Linked DNA regions of Homo sapiens: region 2 is linked to region 1. Evidence: promoter capture Hi-C in 16 types of primary human blood cells and fetal thymus (Javierre and others, 2016). All regions are on one chromosome and are shown on one strand. Each heading gives the region's core, a stretch centred on a gene start or on the middle of the fragment in contact. The rest is flanking DNA. Distances are from core to core; before and after follow the strand shown. Region 1 holds the start of PRRC2C (proline rich coiled-coil 2C). Region 2 holds the start of HEATR1 (HEAT repeat containing 1).

The links. Contacts are between HindIII fragments. The CHiCAGO score rates a contact against its expected background, and 5 or more counts as called.
Region 2: a contact is called between the fragment with the promoter of HEATR1 here and the fragment with the promoter of PRRC2C in region 1, in 1 of 17 cell types (total B cells). The highest score is 6.8, in total B cells.

The regions. Positions count from the first base shown.
Region 1 is chr1:171,481,696-171,488,871 of GRCh38, reverse strand. It overlaps PRRC2C (proline rich coiled-coil 2C), which reads right to left and starts at 3,342. Exons shown (of 35, transcript NM_001387844.1): 1 at 3,137-3,342. It overlaps LOC124904828 (small nucleolar RNA U13), which reads right to left and starts at 6,965; the gene lies at 6,863-6,965. RefSeq lists enhancers at 2,789-3,537, 3,444-3,753. The HindIII fragment of the contact is 3,004 bases long and covers 533-3,536 here.
Region 2 is chr1:236,599,083-236,606,560 of GRCh38, reverse strand. HEATR1 (HEAT repeat containing 1) reads left to right here and starts at 2,045. Exons shown (of 45, transcript NM_018072.6): 1 at 2,045-2,139; 2 at 2,434-2,607; 3 at 3,185-3,401; 4 at 6,937-7,078. The coding sequence starts at 2,466. RefSeq lists an enhancer at 1,845-2,104. The HindIII fragment of the contact is 2,349 bases long and covers 1,988-4,336 here.

The DNA of each region.
Region 1 (7,176 bases), core at 2,093-4,592:
GATGAGTATATCACACTGACTATAATTCACATAATAATTTCATTACAATCTTGTGTTCAGACTCTTAGTTAACAGTCTAAGAGTCTAGTTAATCATGTCTGCCAATCAGATAAAAATTTCCGGTTGAAACTAAGTAACAGTCCTTGTTTGACTGGATTTGCCAGCAAATACATGTAGTCACAGGCCCCAAAACATGCTTTCTGATAATCTGGAGGAAAATAAGGACTAGAAATGTAACTGGCAATGCTGGGAGCAATGGTAGGCACTTCTAGTCCCAGCTACCTGGGAGGCTGAGGCAGGAGATTCTCTTGAGCCCAGGAGTTGGAGGCCAGCCAGGGCAACAGAGTTAGGTCTGTCTCTTAAATAGAAAATTTACTAAAGTTACCCTCTCTATAGAACGCTTTTATCCACAAAGGTGTTCTGGCTCATGCATCGATGAGATTAGCGAGGAATTTAAAATGTTATTACTCATAAAACTAACACAGTAACTCTCAGACTTGTAAGCAACAATTAACATAGACTGAGATAAGCTTTCATTGTGTTGTCCTATTCATAAGGTGACAAAATCACGATTTACCGAAATGAAAGTGTGTCATAACTCAGACACAATTTTTGTATGTCCTTCACTGTAAGAATACAATTCTGTACTAACTTATGTAACATTTTACCAATGATCAATTCTTGTCATTTACAAATATGACATAAATAGCATCCAAAACACAAGTTACCTAACTAACAAACTGAAGTAGTGTTTAGGGGTGGCACTTGGAGGCAGACAGGGATATAATATAATCTTCAAAGACATTTTATCACTAAAGAGGGTGGGGTGGGGGTAAGAAGAAGAGAGGGGGCTGGAATGAGCCAGAACTTCTGCATTTTCAGCTATGAACAAGATACTCATCCCAGGGATATTTACTGTAGAGCATAAAGAAATCGCTAAGAAGCAAAATCCTGCATATAAGTAGACATATCAGGGATAAGGGGAGGTGAAATTTTCTTATGTACCTAAAGAAATATATACATCACCCTGAGAATTTACAGATTATTTATTGCTTGGAAGAGAGTATTTTCTTCTACCAATATCCTACCATTCTCCCTCCACTATTAGTTGACCTTTTACTATGCACTAAGCATAGTAATAAGCCCTTTACATACATTATCCATTATCTTTTTTTACTCCTATAAAAGCCTCTGAGGGAAGTCCTATTATCATCACCATTTTACAGATGAGGGAATATTCTACCAATAATATAGATCAGACGCCTAAATTTAAAAATTATATCTACGACATGGTAGAGTTAGTTTTAAGTTATCTCTAAGCACTCAAATAGAAAAGGACACAAAAAAATTAGCCTCTACCCCAAGTCCAAAGTGGATATATTCCATTTTTACAACTTTCAAAACTTTAACCTTAGCATGCAACAATATTCATATACTAGTCAAGCTAAAGAAAAACTACTAGTTAATAATGCTTTATCTTATTTAGTTACTGTAGTTTATAATTTAAAAAGCAGGTTGAAGGTTTAGAGCATCCCCTTTGGGTTCAGACAGTATGGAATTGAACCTACACAATACCACCAATAACTGCTATGTGACCTTGGTCAGACTACTCTCTCAGATTTCATTTCCTCATCTGTAAAATGGGGATGATCTTAATAGCACTTTTCTCAAAGGTCTGTTGTGGAGATTAAAAAAAAAATGTATGAAAAGGACTTATTACTGTGCTCAGTGTATAGCAAAAGGTCACCTAATGGAGAACAGCCACACATAAGCTAAGCAGAGCAAACACAATCACTTAAAAAGGCTATATTCTGAAAATCCACTTACAGAAAAGGAGAGAATTACTATTTGACTACATGCTAAAGACAAAATTCAAGTTCAATTTATTCCTAATTTTTTAGGGGATCAATGCATTTGGGGTGAGCCAGAAAAGATGCTGCAGTGCATCTGTGACACACACCTAAAAATGGCTCCAGTCAAAGCAGCATCTTAATTACCAATATGGGAGGTGAAATCTAGTTTTGAAAAATGGTGGGGTTAGGCTTGGTAGGTGCTTAGTATCACCCTATTATTTTTATTTGCAGGAGTAAGCTATTAAGTACTCAACAATCAAAAAATCCTCCGATTCTTCTGGTGCATTCCAAATGAAAATCTTACAGCAGAGCCGCCTACTGTACAATTCTAAGTACTCTAACGAGGTATGAATCTATGAACCCAGGCTGAAAACCAGCCAATGCGGAAATCCAGGTAGCTTTATAAGCCAGCAAACATCAGGCATGTCAGACCCTCAAAAGATCCCAAATAATGTCAAAACACACATACATCCCTTTAAATTAAAGGTACTCCTCTCATGCAAAGGAAGGAAGACTCTATCAATGTCTCTATAGTGGCCCCATGCCCTTTTCTTCAGTCCTAAAACGGGGCCTTTACCCTGACACCACCAATATCAACGCTATCTCAAAGACAGGGAGCTACCGAGATTCACCACGCAAGTTAGAGGATGGAGCGGCCTAGAGTGTGAAAAGACTACCCAAATCCTCCTCCGGAGTTGGGCAGCACTTCCCTAGCGGAAGTAGGGTTGGTCTTGATTCCCCGAAGAGCCTCTCATCTAACCAGGTCTTTAAACCAGACCCTCCCATACATTGCTCATTGCAAGTCCCACCCTCACTACACAGGAAGAGGTAGACAGTGAAAGCCCCGGCTGAGTCCTTCAGTTGTTTGGGGAAACGCATACCCGACACTAAAAAAAAAAAAAAAAAAAAAAGACTTCACGTCCGCCAGTCCAGGAAGACGGAAACCCCCTTCGCTTACCCGGCAACATGCGTAATCCCCTCGCAGGGCCAGGACTGGGGTCTAGGTGGGAGCAAGACAGACCGGTCCAGAACTCCCGCTGCAGACCACATGGGGCGGGTCTGACTCCGGTTTCCCGCTCCCCAAGCTGGAGGCCGACTTCCCCAGACACAGAGATGATGGTAACCAAACAGAAGGGAAATGCCCGGACCCAAGGCCCTCTCCACGCGGCCCCCTAGCCTCCGGGCGCCAGGGTCTGGGTGCGCTCCCACGCCCCAGGCCGCACTCTGGCCGTTCCCGATGGGGCCCTCTTTGATCGCGGCCCCCACACCCTCGCTTTCCTTACCGGTCAGGGTGAGTGTCAAGTTTGCGCACTTCGAGGGTCTCCGCCGATCTCTGATCGAAAGAAGGGGGAGGGAAAGCTGGGGTTAAAGGGGTGGCCGGAAGGGCCACCAGACTGGAAAAGCCGAAGCTGCGGATGGACAAACCGCCAAAGCACTTTCGCAGCTTTCCGAGGGGGAGCGAGCGAGCGAGAAAAAGAAGCAAGATGGCGGCTAGCCAGCCCCTACGTACTACGTCATGACGCTAAGTACGTAGGTCAAATCTCCGCAAGACCACACTCCTGCGCAGAGACGGCCGGATCACGTGAAGCCTCCGTGGCGGCCCAACCCCGACAGAGGGTGCTGGCGCTTCCTGCTGGACGGAGGGAGTTTCTGCAATCAGAATTATCTTTTCAGGACAAAGCTTGGACCTGAGACCTTTCTAAGAAGTCTTGAATTGACCACGTTTACAAGTTGATAATAAGCCTCAGTGAAATGAGCACTCTTATGTCTGGTGGGTGGATGTGTAAATGGTTGAACCAGCAGTTCGCCAGTATGTCTCAGTGAATTTGGGGCAAGCTGAGAAGTCTTGGTGTATTGAAAAGTTATCACAGAGAGTGAAAGTAAAACTAGTGTGAGGAACAGAGTAGCATGGGCTGCTGAGAGCACTTTTTAAGTTTCTAATTATGGATGTGAGATAAGCCATTCAGTTTATTTATATGATCTCTCCATCACAGTGTTCAGCTCCGTTGAATAGTAAGATTCACCCATGCTGGCTTTTACTAGGCAAGTGTAACATAGGCAGATGAGTGTATCTGGAAGTGGGAGACTACAATGATGATAATATTATGTCAGAACAGATGGCGAATGTTTAGTAAATGGTATCTTTTGTCCTCTTTGTGAACTACCTATGACATATTTAAAATTCAAGGATTTCTTACCACTTCTGGTCTGAACGATCTTCCCCGCCAGTAGCTGGTGTATGTCCATGGAATTGTCACTGTAGCAATGTTAGAATAAATGAAATAATAAAGAGAGGTAAATTATGAACACCTCCCTCCCCACTAATATTAATTTGAAGTAGAAAAGTCTGGACTTGCTTGGTGGCTCATGCCTGTAATACTAATACTTTGGTAGGTCAAGGCAAAAGGATTGCTTGAGACCAGGAGTTCAAGACCAATCTGGGCAACATAGTGAGACCCTACCTCTGCAAAAAAATTAAAAAGAAAAAAAGCTAGCTAGGCATAGTGGCACATGCTTATAGTCCTAGCTACCTGGGAGGCTGGAGGCAAAAGGATCACTTGAGCACAGGAGGTTGAGGCTGCAGCGAGACTCTTTCTCGAAAAAATAGAAAAGAAGAAAAGAAAAAGTTTTTTTATTGATATAGGGTCATTGCCAGGGGAAAGCCTACTGATCATCCACAAGAGGACAAGGAAGCATTACTTTAGTGAATTTCTACAACCTTCTAGGATCTGGTCTATAGTGTCCTGGTCACAGAAACATCTTTCTTTGTTTTTTTGGAGGCAGGGTCTCACTTTGCTGCCCAGGCTGGAGTGTAGTGGCATAATCACAGGTCACTGAAGCCTCAACCTCCCAGGCTCAAGCAATCCACCTGTCTCAGCCTCCCAGGTAGGTGGGACTACAGGTGCTTGCCACAAAACCTGGCTTTTTTTTTTTTTTTTTTTTTTTTTTGCCAGTAGAGACGAGGTCTTGCTATGTTGACTGGGCTGGTTTCGAACTCCTGAGCTCAAGCAAGCCTCCCGCATTGGCCTCCCAAAGTGCCGGAATTACCGGCATGAGCCACCACGCCCAGCCAAATCATCTGTCTTGAGCAATGGAGAACAACTTCAGCAATCAGATGAAATTACATTAACCAAGGTCATAAGACTGACACGTATGGCCGGGCGCGGTGGCTCACGCCTGTAATCCCAGCACTTTGGGAGGCCGAGGCGGGCGGATCACAAGGTCAGGAGATCGAGACCATCCTGGCTAACACGGTGAAACCCAGTCTCTACTAAAAAATACAAAAAAAAATTAGCCGGGCGTGGTGGCGGGCGCCTGTAGTCCCAGCTACTCAGGAGGCTGAAGCAGGAGAATGGCGTGAACCCAGGAGGCGGAGCTTGCAGTGAGCACAGATCCTGCCACTGCACTCCAGCCTGGGCAACAGAGCGAGAGAGCGAGACTCTGTCTCAAAAAAAAAAAAAAAAAAAAAAAGACATGTATTAAATTATTAATTTCTAAGAGCTTTAATTTATACACCTGAACACTCAACAACTGCAAAGCCAATACTTTTTTTTTCTTTTTTTCTTTTAATTTTTGCCAGAAACAGAAAGCCTCCGGTATGCCAGCATGGACCCAAGGTGCTATCTTTTCTTGAGTACATTTTCTCATTTCCCTCCCCTCCCCTCCCCTCCCTCCCTCCTTCTCCCCTCCCCTCCCTCCCTCCCTCCCTTCCCCTCCCCTCCCTCCCTCCCTTCCTTCCTTCCTTGCCTGCCTGCCTTTTCTTCCTTCCTTCCTTCCTTCTTTCTTTTTTTTTTTCCCCATGGAGTCTCACTCTGTTGTCCAGGTGGCGTAATCTCAGCTTACTGCAACCTTCACCTCCCAGGTTCGAGCGGTTCTCCTGCCTCAGCCTCCCGAGTAGTTGGGATTACACAAAGGCGCCACCACGCCCAGCTAATTTTTGTATTTTTGGTTGAGATGGGGTTTCGCCATGTTGGCCAGGCTGGTCTCAAACTCCTGACCGCATGTGATTCGCCTGCCTCAGCCTCCCAACGTGCTGGGATTACAGGTGTGAGCCACTGTGCCTGGCCCCGCTGAGTGCATTTTCTGTGTAGCCAAACCTACTCAGGAAACCAAGGCATTATCAGAAGGTTGCTTGATGAGCACATATTCTGAACAAGTGGAGTTATATGTATAGACTTTTCTTGAGTCATCTATCTTCACAACAGGAGAATTTTGTCCCGAAAATAGAAGTTCTCAATTTCCAATGGCTGCAGTTGCCCGCATTGATCTCCAATATAGTGGTGACATCCTGCTGAGCTGCTGATTTGTGCTCCTTGTCTCCTTAGCAGCACTTGGATGGCCACTGACCCTAAAGTGCCCCCTGTACGTTACTTTCTCTGTTTCCATGGCTACCCAAACCTCTTTGCAATATTATTTCAATAAAAATCAAGTTACAGTTAAATCAAACCAGTTTGTGTTTTAAAGGTGACTTTGCTTATTTCTGCTCCTAGCTATGTATGTGATCTTAAAGTCTAACTTTTAGAGAGCAGTCTTACTGCCTTTGTTTCCAATTTATTGGGGAAAATGTGACTGAAGTCTCCTTGACTTGGATTGCACTTCTCCTGACACTCCACCATTGTAGACAAATTTGTTATAACAAAAATGTCTTCATGACAGATTGAATGAAAACTTTTCATTTAATTTACAACACTTCTATTTAAACAATAATTTTAGAATAACATTATCAAATTTCCAATTGGGTGGTGTGGAATCAGGCAAACTAGTTTCTTACTGAAAACAAATTCACTCTCCAAACAATATGACGTATTTTCTTTGTGATTGTCCAGCCTTATTTGCTAATGATTTAATGAGTTTCTACCCTTCTCATTGTGATTGATTCCATAATCCTGTAGGCACTGAAATTTTACGGTAGAGTAGTTAAAAACAAAATGATCAGTGAAAGTATCATACTTTATTAGCAGTAATGTTCCTTTTTTCTCTCTTCTTTGTTTAAAAATTTTAAATTTTCACATCAGATGGGTAATGGACCACGTCATAACAAGGTTTGAGGTTGGCGCATCTCATAGATTCATGTGAACACTGAATCATCACACTTATGAACTACAAAAGGATCAGCAGTTGTGTTTCTTAAGTGTTTAGGTGCATTTGACAATTTTGTTTTCTTTTTATGAATGATCCAGCAAATCATATTTAGTTAAAAACTATGAAACATGATAAGCCTGGTGTAAAGAAAACCAGAATACCCAAATACTGCATGAAAATGTAATCCCGGTTTATAAACATCAACAGATGTTGTACATTTGCTAATAAAGATAAGAAAAAT
Region 2 (7,478 bases), core at 796-3,295, about 65 Mb before region 1:
CCATAAGTCTTAGGGATGGGCTTTATGCCAACGTGCTGAAGCCAATATTATAGTGAGGGAATACAAGAAATAAACAGGTAAACAAACAGACAAATCAGGTCATTTCAAGTAGTGATAATGGCTATGAAGAAAATACCAGCTTGGTACATCTGTCCGTCAGATAAAAATATATAATTCAAGATTATTACATTTTTTTTAAAACCAAAGCTTTTTTTTAAAAAAAAATTACATTTATGAACATCTGACTTGTTTTCCTTTTTACTTTCCAAAGTAAAATTCGGCATGGCACTATACACCATCACAGCTGACATAGGAAGGACTGAGTCAAATCTTTGTAGCACTTTTTCAAGTTTCACTTAAATAAAGCTTTTAAAAAATATATAGGGTATTTTTTAAGCAAAAAAAGCAAATTATCTTATCAATGAAACAGACCTGGTGTTCATTTCTTTTAAAGTACCGAAAGCTGATTGCTTCTGTAAAGGTAAAACTCCTGTGACATGTTAGAAAGAAAAAAAAAATTCCTTTGAGAGATATGTTTGTAAGAATGAAATAGGTACTACTAGAATTTTCATGTTATTCTCTGCAAGGCACTCAACACCACATGAAAAGAAGATTATTAACAGTCAGTAGAAATACTAATAACTGAAGAAAATATTTGGTTGTTTTAAATGCTTTTAAAGCAAACCAACAACAAAAGATTCTGTTTGTAAATGGGAGAGAATCTGCATGAGGTATAGACAACCAGGGCCTCCAAATTTGTAGCTGTGTTTCTGACATTCTCCAGGGAAGACGGTTACAGAAAGACTTGACCCCCTGGCCCCGCAGAGCTCTTCAGAGAAATTAATGCATCCAGAAAAGACAGAGCATCAGATCTCACTCCTTCGTCTGGAAGACGTCAGTTCATCCTAGTTCTAGCGCATACCGGTGTTTTGGAAACAGATTAGCTATATTCATACATAAGGATACTCTTCCGCAACACTATCTGTAGTGAGGCCAAGACCAGTGGTTGCGGGAATCTTCGCAAACAGGCAAGAGACAATTTTTAGGGGCGATGGAAACTGTCATTTTGACTGGGGAGGTCATTACACCTATACATGCATTTGCTAAAAGTCATCAAACTCTTCCACTGACGTGGGTGTAACCATTGTTTGTAAATTATACCTCAACAGGATTCGATTAATTTATTTATTGAGACAGTCTCGCTCTGTGGAGTGCAGTGGTGCAATCTTGGCCCACTGCAACCTCCGACTCCCGGGTTCCAGCGATTCTTCTGTCTCAGCTTTCCTAGTAGCTGGGATTACAGGCGCCCGCCACCACGTCCGGCTAATTCTTTTATTTTTAGTAGAGACGGGGTTTCGCTATGTTGGCCAGGCTGGTCCCGAACTCCTGACCTCAGGTGATCAGCTCGCCTGAGCTTCCCAAAGTGCTCGGATTACAGGCCGCGCCTGACTATGATTCGTTTTGAAAGAAAAAAATATATGCCATTTACCCCTCGGGAATGGAAACATAGAGGAGTGACAAGATCTCCCCCAAGCTCTGGGGCGGTGGAGTCCAGCATTTATAGATCGGTTTGCACTAGGAGCAGAAGCTCCTTTCACGACAATCTCGGCCTCTTCCCACTTTGTAGAGTGAGTAACAAGCTCGGAGAGATGAAATAATTTGGTGGCGTTAACCCGGCCGACAGGCGCCAGCGCCAGGATTTGAACCCAAACCACGTGACTTCACAACCCATAGCTTTCAACACTACGCGGTGCTGCTGGCACCTAGTAAAGGCTGGATCACTACTGAATGAATGATTCTGGCTACGGATCCTTAAAGCCCACAGAAGGCCCATCCAGAGACCGAAAGCTTCAGACACAAGCCGCAGAGCAGACCGCTAAACCGGAGCTACAGAGGCGAAGCTCAGACTTGAGCCTGAGTCCGGCGGGCTGAGGGGCGGGCTTTCGTCTCGGGAGGCGGAGCTGTCTCGTCGCATTCCCGGCAAGCTTGAACCTCTTCACTTGCCGTAGCGCCTGCAGCAGGAAGTTGCTCTACAGCATGCCTTAGGTTTCCGGGTGAGGGTTGGGCTCCTTGGTACCATGTGGGAAGCGCTGTGAAGAGTTGTTGCCTTCCAAGATATACCCAAATTCCCAGTTCCAGGTAAGCGGCACAGAGCCGCTTGATGTGGCTGCGGATGGGGGCGGCATATCGAGGGAGGGTAAGAGTTTTCCGGATATCTGCGGAATCAGGGTTGAAGGAAAGCCTTGGCGCGGTCGCCGCTACTGTAATTAGTTGTTAACGCTGCTGCCATCGTCTTTGCATCTCCGGGGTCCACAAATCTCAGGACACCCGCGTTGTGTGTCCATGACGGTGCTGAGTGCAGAAGAGAATTGTTTGTTTACGAGGCGCCTTATAATTTCGTAGAAACTTATCAAAGTGCTTACGTTTTTTTAGCCCGTGTCATTAAAACTCCGCTGGCGTGAAAGATGACGTCCTTAGCCCAGCAGCTGCAACGACTCGCCCTCCCTCAAAGTGATGCCAGCCTCTTATCTAGAGATGAAGTTGCTTCTTTGTTATTTGACCCTAAGGAAGCGGCCACAATCGACAGGGACACCGCCTTCGCCATTGGTGAGCCATCTTTTAACTTAGAAAAGCTCTTGGAAGCGTTTGTTTTCTGGATGTTACTGTTTTTTTTTTTTCCCCTTGTTTTCTCTTCTGTCCCGTCCTCTTCCTTAGCAGTTTCTAGCATGTTGATGTATATTTTTAAGGGAAAGAGAACATAACAGTCAGGTGCTTGGTGCTTGAAATGTTTATGAGTAGAGGTATCTGGATTTCACAGATGAAGAAACAAAATTAGAGAGGTCAACTAATATGTCAAAGAGAAGAACAGCTAAAAGGGGGATGGAGGCAGTGACTGGGGTGACGGAGAAGTCCTCTCAGAGGACTGGCCTAGTTATTGTAGGGGATATCCAAAAAAAAAAAAAAAAAAGTGTTCCCTGCCACGAAGTACTTTCTGTTCTAGTAGATGAGATAGGATTTACTCTAAAAGTTGAAAACTAGAAATCAGTGTTTGGGACTGTATTATAAATTATATGTACTTAAAGAATTCAGAAACTTCTTAGGGGTAAGTAAAACTGTAAAAGAGGGGTGGGATGAATTTGCTTACGAAGAATTGTTAAATAAACTGGCCTTTTTTGAAATTTAGGATGTACTGGCCTGGAAGAGTTGCTTGGAATTGATCCTTCCTTTGAGCAGTTTGAAGCACCGTTGTTCAGTCAGCTAGCAAAAACCTTGGAGCGAAGTGTTCAGACCAAAGCAGTAAACAAACAGTTGGATGAAAACATTTCATTATTCCTTATTCACTTGTCGCCTTACTTCCTGCTTAAGCCAGCACAGAAGTGTCTGGAGTGGTTGATTCACAGGTAGCTAATAGAATTACAGAAATAACTATGGGTTAATCACTTTGGTCTTGTAAAAAATTAAGTAGTTGAGAACTTATCAAATTAAAGCTGAAAAATTAGGTATATTAAGAGATTGATACAATGTCCATTGTGTGAGATAAGCATGCTCTTCTGCCTTTAAATTCTTTTTTGTTGATAGTGAAAAGTAGAACTACTGGTGATTTTGAGTAAATGGTCTAACCTCATTAGTTTTTTTTTGAGATAGAGTCTTGCTGGGCACTCAGGCTGGAGTGCAATATTGAAATCTTGGCTCACTGCAACCTCTGCCTCCCAGGTTCAAGTGATTCTCCCACCTCAGCCTCCCAAGTAGCTGGGATTACAGGCACCTGCCATAATGCCTGGATGAGTTTTGTGTTTTTGTAGAGATGGAGTTTCACCGTGTTAGCCAGGCTGGTCTTTAACCCCTGACCTCAGGTGATCCACCCGCCTCGGCCTCCCAAAATACTGGGATTACAGGTGTGAGCCACCTCGCCCAGCCTAACCTCGTTAGTTCTGAAGAGCCCATGCTACTTTGCCATTACAGCTTGTTCCTGCACACTTGAGGCAGTGAGTACTAAGCTGCTTTCTTGGCAAAATAACAAGATGGTTGGGGAAGCAGGCAATGTTATCCTCTGAAATACCATTGCTTGAGAAAAACAATGATAGCTAATGTGTTTTTGAGCATTTATACACTAGGCCCTGGTAAGCACTTTATCTGCATTATCTCATTTAATTCTCACAGCATTCCTCTGGTGAGATTATTTGTATTATCCTTGTTTTACAGTTGAGAAAACTGAGGCTTAGAGGGATTAAGTTTCTTGAGTCACACAGCTAGTAAGTGGCAGAGCTAGGATACAGCTGAAGTTTATTTCCAAGGTCTGATCTTTTATCTGCTTTGGGAATTGTCTCAGTAAGCTTAGTTTATTTTCTCACATATTGGTGTCACATCACAGCATACACATTTTTGTTTTATTTATTCTCCCAATATGTATGTCTTTTTTTTTTGAGACAGTCTCGCACTGTCGCCCAGGCTGGAGTGCAGTGGCACGATCTCATCTCACTGCAACCTCCACCTCCCAGGTTCAAGCAATTCTCCTGCCTCAGCCTCCCAAGTAGCTGGGATTACAGGCACATACCACTACGCCCAGTTAATTTTTTGTATTTTTTTTTTTTTAGTAAAGATGGGGTTTCATCACGTTGGCCAGGCTGGTCTCAAACTCCTGACCTCGTGATCCACTCGTCTTAGCCTCCCAAAGTGCTGGTGTGAGCCACCACAGCCACTGCACACGGCTGTCTTTTTATTTTTATTTTATTGAGTGTCAGGATTTCACTCACCCAGGCTGGAGTGCAGTGGTGTGATCGTGGCCCACTCGATCTCCAGGGCTCAAATGATCCTCCGATCTCAGCCACCCAAGTAGCTGGGATTACAGGCATGCACCACCATGCCCACCTAGTTTTTTTTTTGTTTGTTTGTTTTTGTTTTTGTTTTTCCATTTTTTGTAGAGACAGTGTCTCACTTTGTTGCCCAGGCTGGTCTGGAACTCCTGGCCTCAAGCGATCCTCCTGCCGAGTCGGCCTCCCAAAGTGCTGGGGTTACAGGCATGAGCCACCACATCCAGTCCAACTTACATGTTTTAAAAGTAGATTTCTATTCCATTAATTGGAGACATGGCTTCAAGGCCAGCCTGGCCAGCATGGTAAAACCTGTCTGTGTGAAAAATACAAAAATTAGCTGGGCGCAGTGGCGAGCACTTGTAATTCTAGCTACTTGGGAGGCTGAGGCAGGAGAATTGCTTGAATCCAGGAGACAGATTTTGCAGTGAGCTGAGATCACGCCACTGCACTCCAGCCTGGGTAACAGGGAGACGCCGTATCAAAAAAAAAAAACAAAAAATGGAGACGTGGGGATAAACTAATTTTTTTTCAAGAAGCAAGTGAGTCATCAAGAAAACATGATTTTAACTTGGGTCTTCTGATTGTCAGAACATTAGGGCAATCAGACAAAGAATATTTAAAAGTCTGTAATATTTCCATCTGTTTTCTAGCACCTAACTTTACCCCCAAATAGATCATTAATGTAAGGAATACTTTTTGCATTTGATTTTTCATTTTATGTCTTCAGATAACTTATTTATTCAGCAAATACTAAGTTCAGTACATAGATAAGTAGGTTGCCGTTGATTACTGTTTTGAAATAAATGCCATAATAAAGGATTAAGCAGAGTTTTGTGGATATAGTTCTGCCTGGAATAGTTGAAGAAAGCTTCATGGAAAAAGTAACCGCTAAAACCGTATGTCAAACTAAGAGGCTGGGTTCAGTGGCTCACGCCTGTAATCCCAGCACTTTGAGAGGCTGAGGCAGGCCAGTCACTTGAGATCAGGAGTTTGAGACGAGCCTGACCAACATGGTGAATCCCTGTCTCTACTAGAAATACAAAAAAAAATTAGCTGGGTGTGGTGCTGTGCACCTGTAATTCCAGCTACTTGGGAGGCTAGGGCATGAGAATCGCTTGAACTTGGGAGGCGAAGGTTGCAGTGAGCTGAGATCACACCACTGCACTCCAGCCTGGGTGACCAAGTAGACTCTGGAAAAAAAAAAAAATCTAATAAAAGGCAATGTATGGTACTGTTTAAAAAAAGTACACGATGTAAAAGGATAGGAGAGTTTTCACAGAAGAGGGATCAGTTGGCAGAATTAGAAAAAACATCTTAGCCAGGCATGGTGGCTCACACCTGTAGTCCTAGCACTTTGGGAGGCTGAGGCAGGTAGATTGCCTGAGCTCAGGAGTTGGAGACCAGCCTGGGCAACATGGTGAAACCCCATCTCTACTAAAGTAAAAAAAAAAAATTAGCTGGGCATGGTGGTATGAGTTTGTAGTCCCAGCTACTTGGGAGGCGGAGGCAGGAGAATCTTTTAAACTTGGAGGTGGAGGTTGCAGTGAGCCGAGATTGTGCCACTGCACTCCAGCCTGGGCAACAGCAAGACTCCCTCTCAAAAAAAAAAAAAAAAAAAAAAAAAAAAATGTTGACAGACCAGCCTGGGCAACACAGGGAGACCTAGTCTCTACACAGAAATAAAAAATTAGCCAGCTGTGATGGTGCTCCCCTGTGGTCCCAGCTACTCAGGAGACCTAGGTGGGAGGATCATTTGAGCCTGGGAGGTTGAGGCTGCAGTGACCCGTGATCGTGCCACTGCACTCCAGCCTGAGTGGCAGAGCAAGACTCTATTCAAAAAATTAAATAAAAATTGTAAAGCTGAGAGAAAGTTAATGGGATGTATATTTTGATGTAGAATATTCAAAGATATTGCATAGGAATTGGCTGGACCATGTTGAGGGATATGTGAATGCAAAATTGGGGACTTTTTAAATGCTCTGTATCTTATAATTTTGTGATTTTTACTGCTACTCGTTCTAGGTTGTTTTAGCTTATTAATAATACAGTTTGGGCATGTGAGGAAATAGGTGCTTATTATTAAGTTTTGTGTTCAGTTGGACTGTTTGCTTTTTTTCCCCAGGTTCCATATACATCTCTATAATCAAGATAGCCTCATTGCTTGTGTTCTGCCATACCACGAGACAAGAATATTTGTGCGAGTCATACAGCTTCTAAAAATTAATAATTCAAAGCACAGATGGTTCTGGTTGTTGCCAGTTAAGGTATAATTGCTGAATGACATATGTCTGTAATCATTACAGATCTTGATTAAGGGATTTAATTAGGAAAAAATAAGTCATTGCTCCTGGGGATAGTCCAGATAACTACCTCCATCATTTTTATTTCCTGACTTCCAATTGAAACTATTATTAATGTTAATAATATTTAGCTTTTATTTAGTATCTGACATCAGGCTAGGCAATGTACATTATATTATCTTGGATTATCACAAAACTTCATTTTTACAGATGAGGACAGGCTACTTGCCAAAGTTCACATAACTATAAAGTGGCAGAGTTGAGATTTGAACCCAAATCTGATTCCAGAGTCTGTGCCTTTGTATCGTACCATGCCGTTTGGCATTTTAAATTTGGAACTGAGAACTTAAAAAAAAGTTGAAGG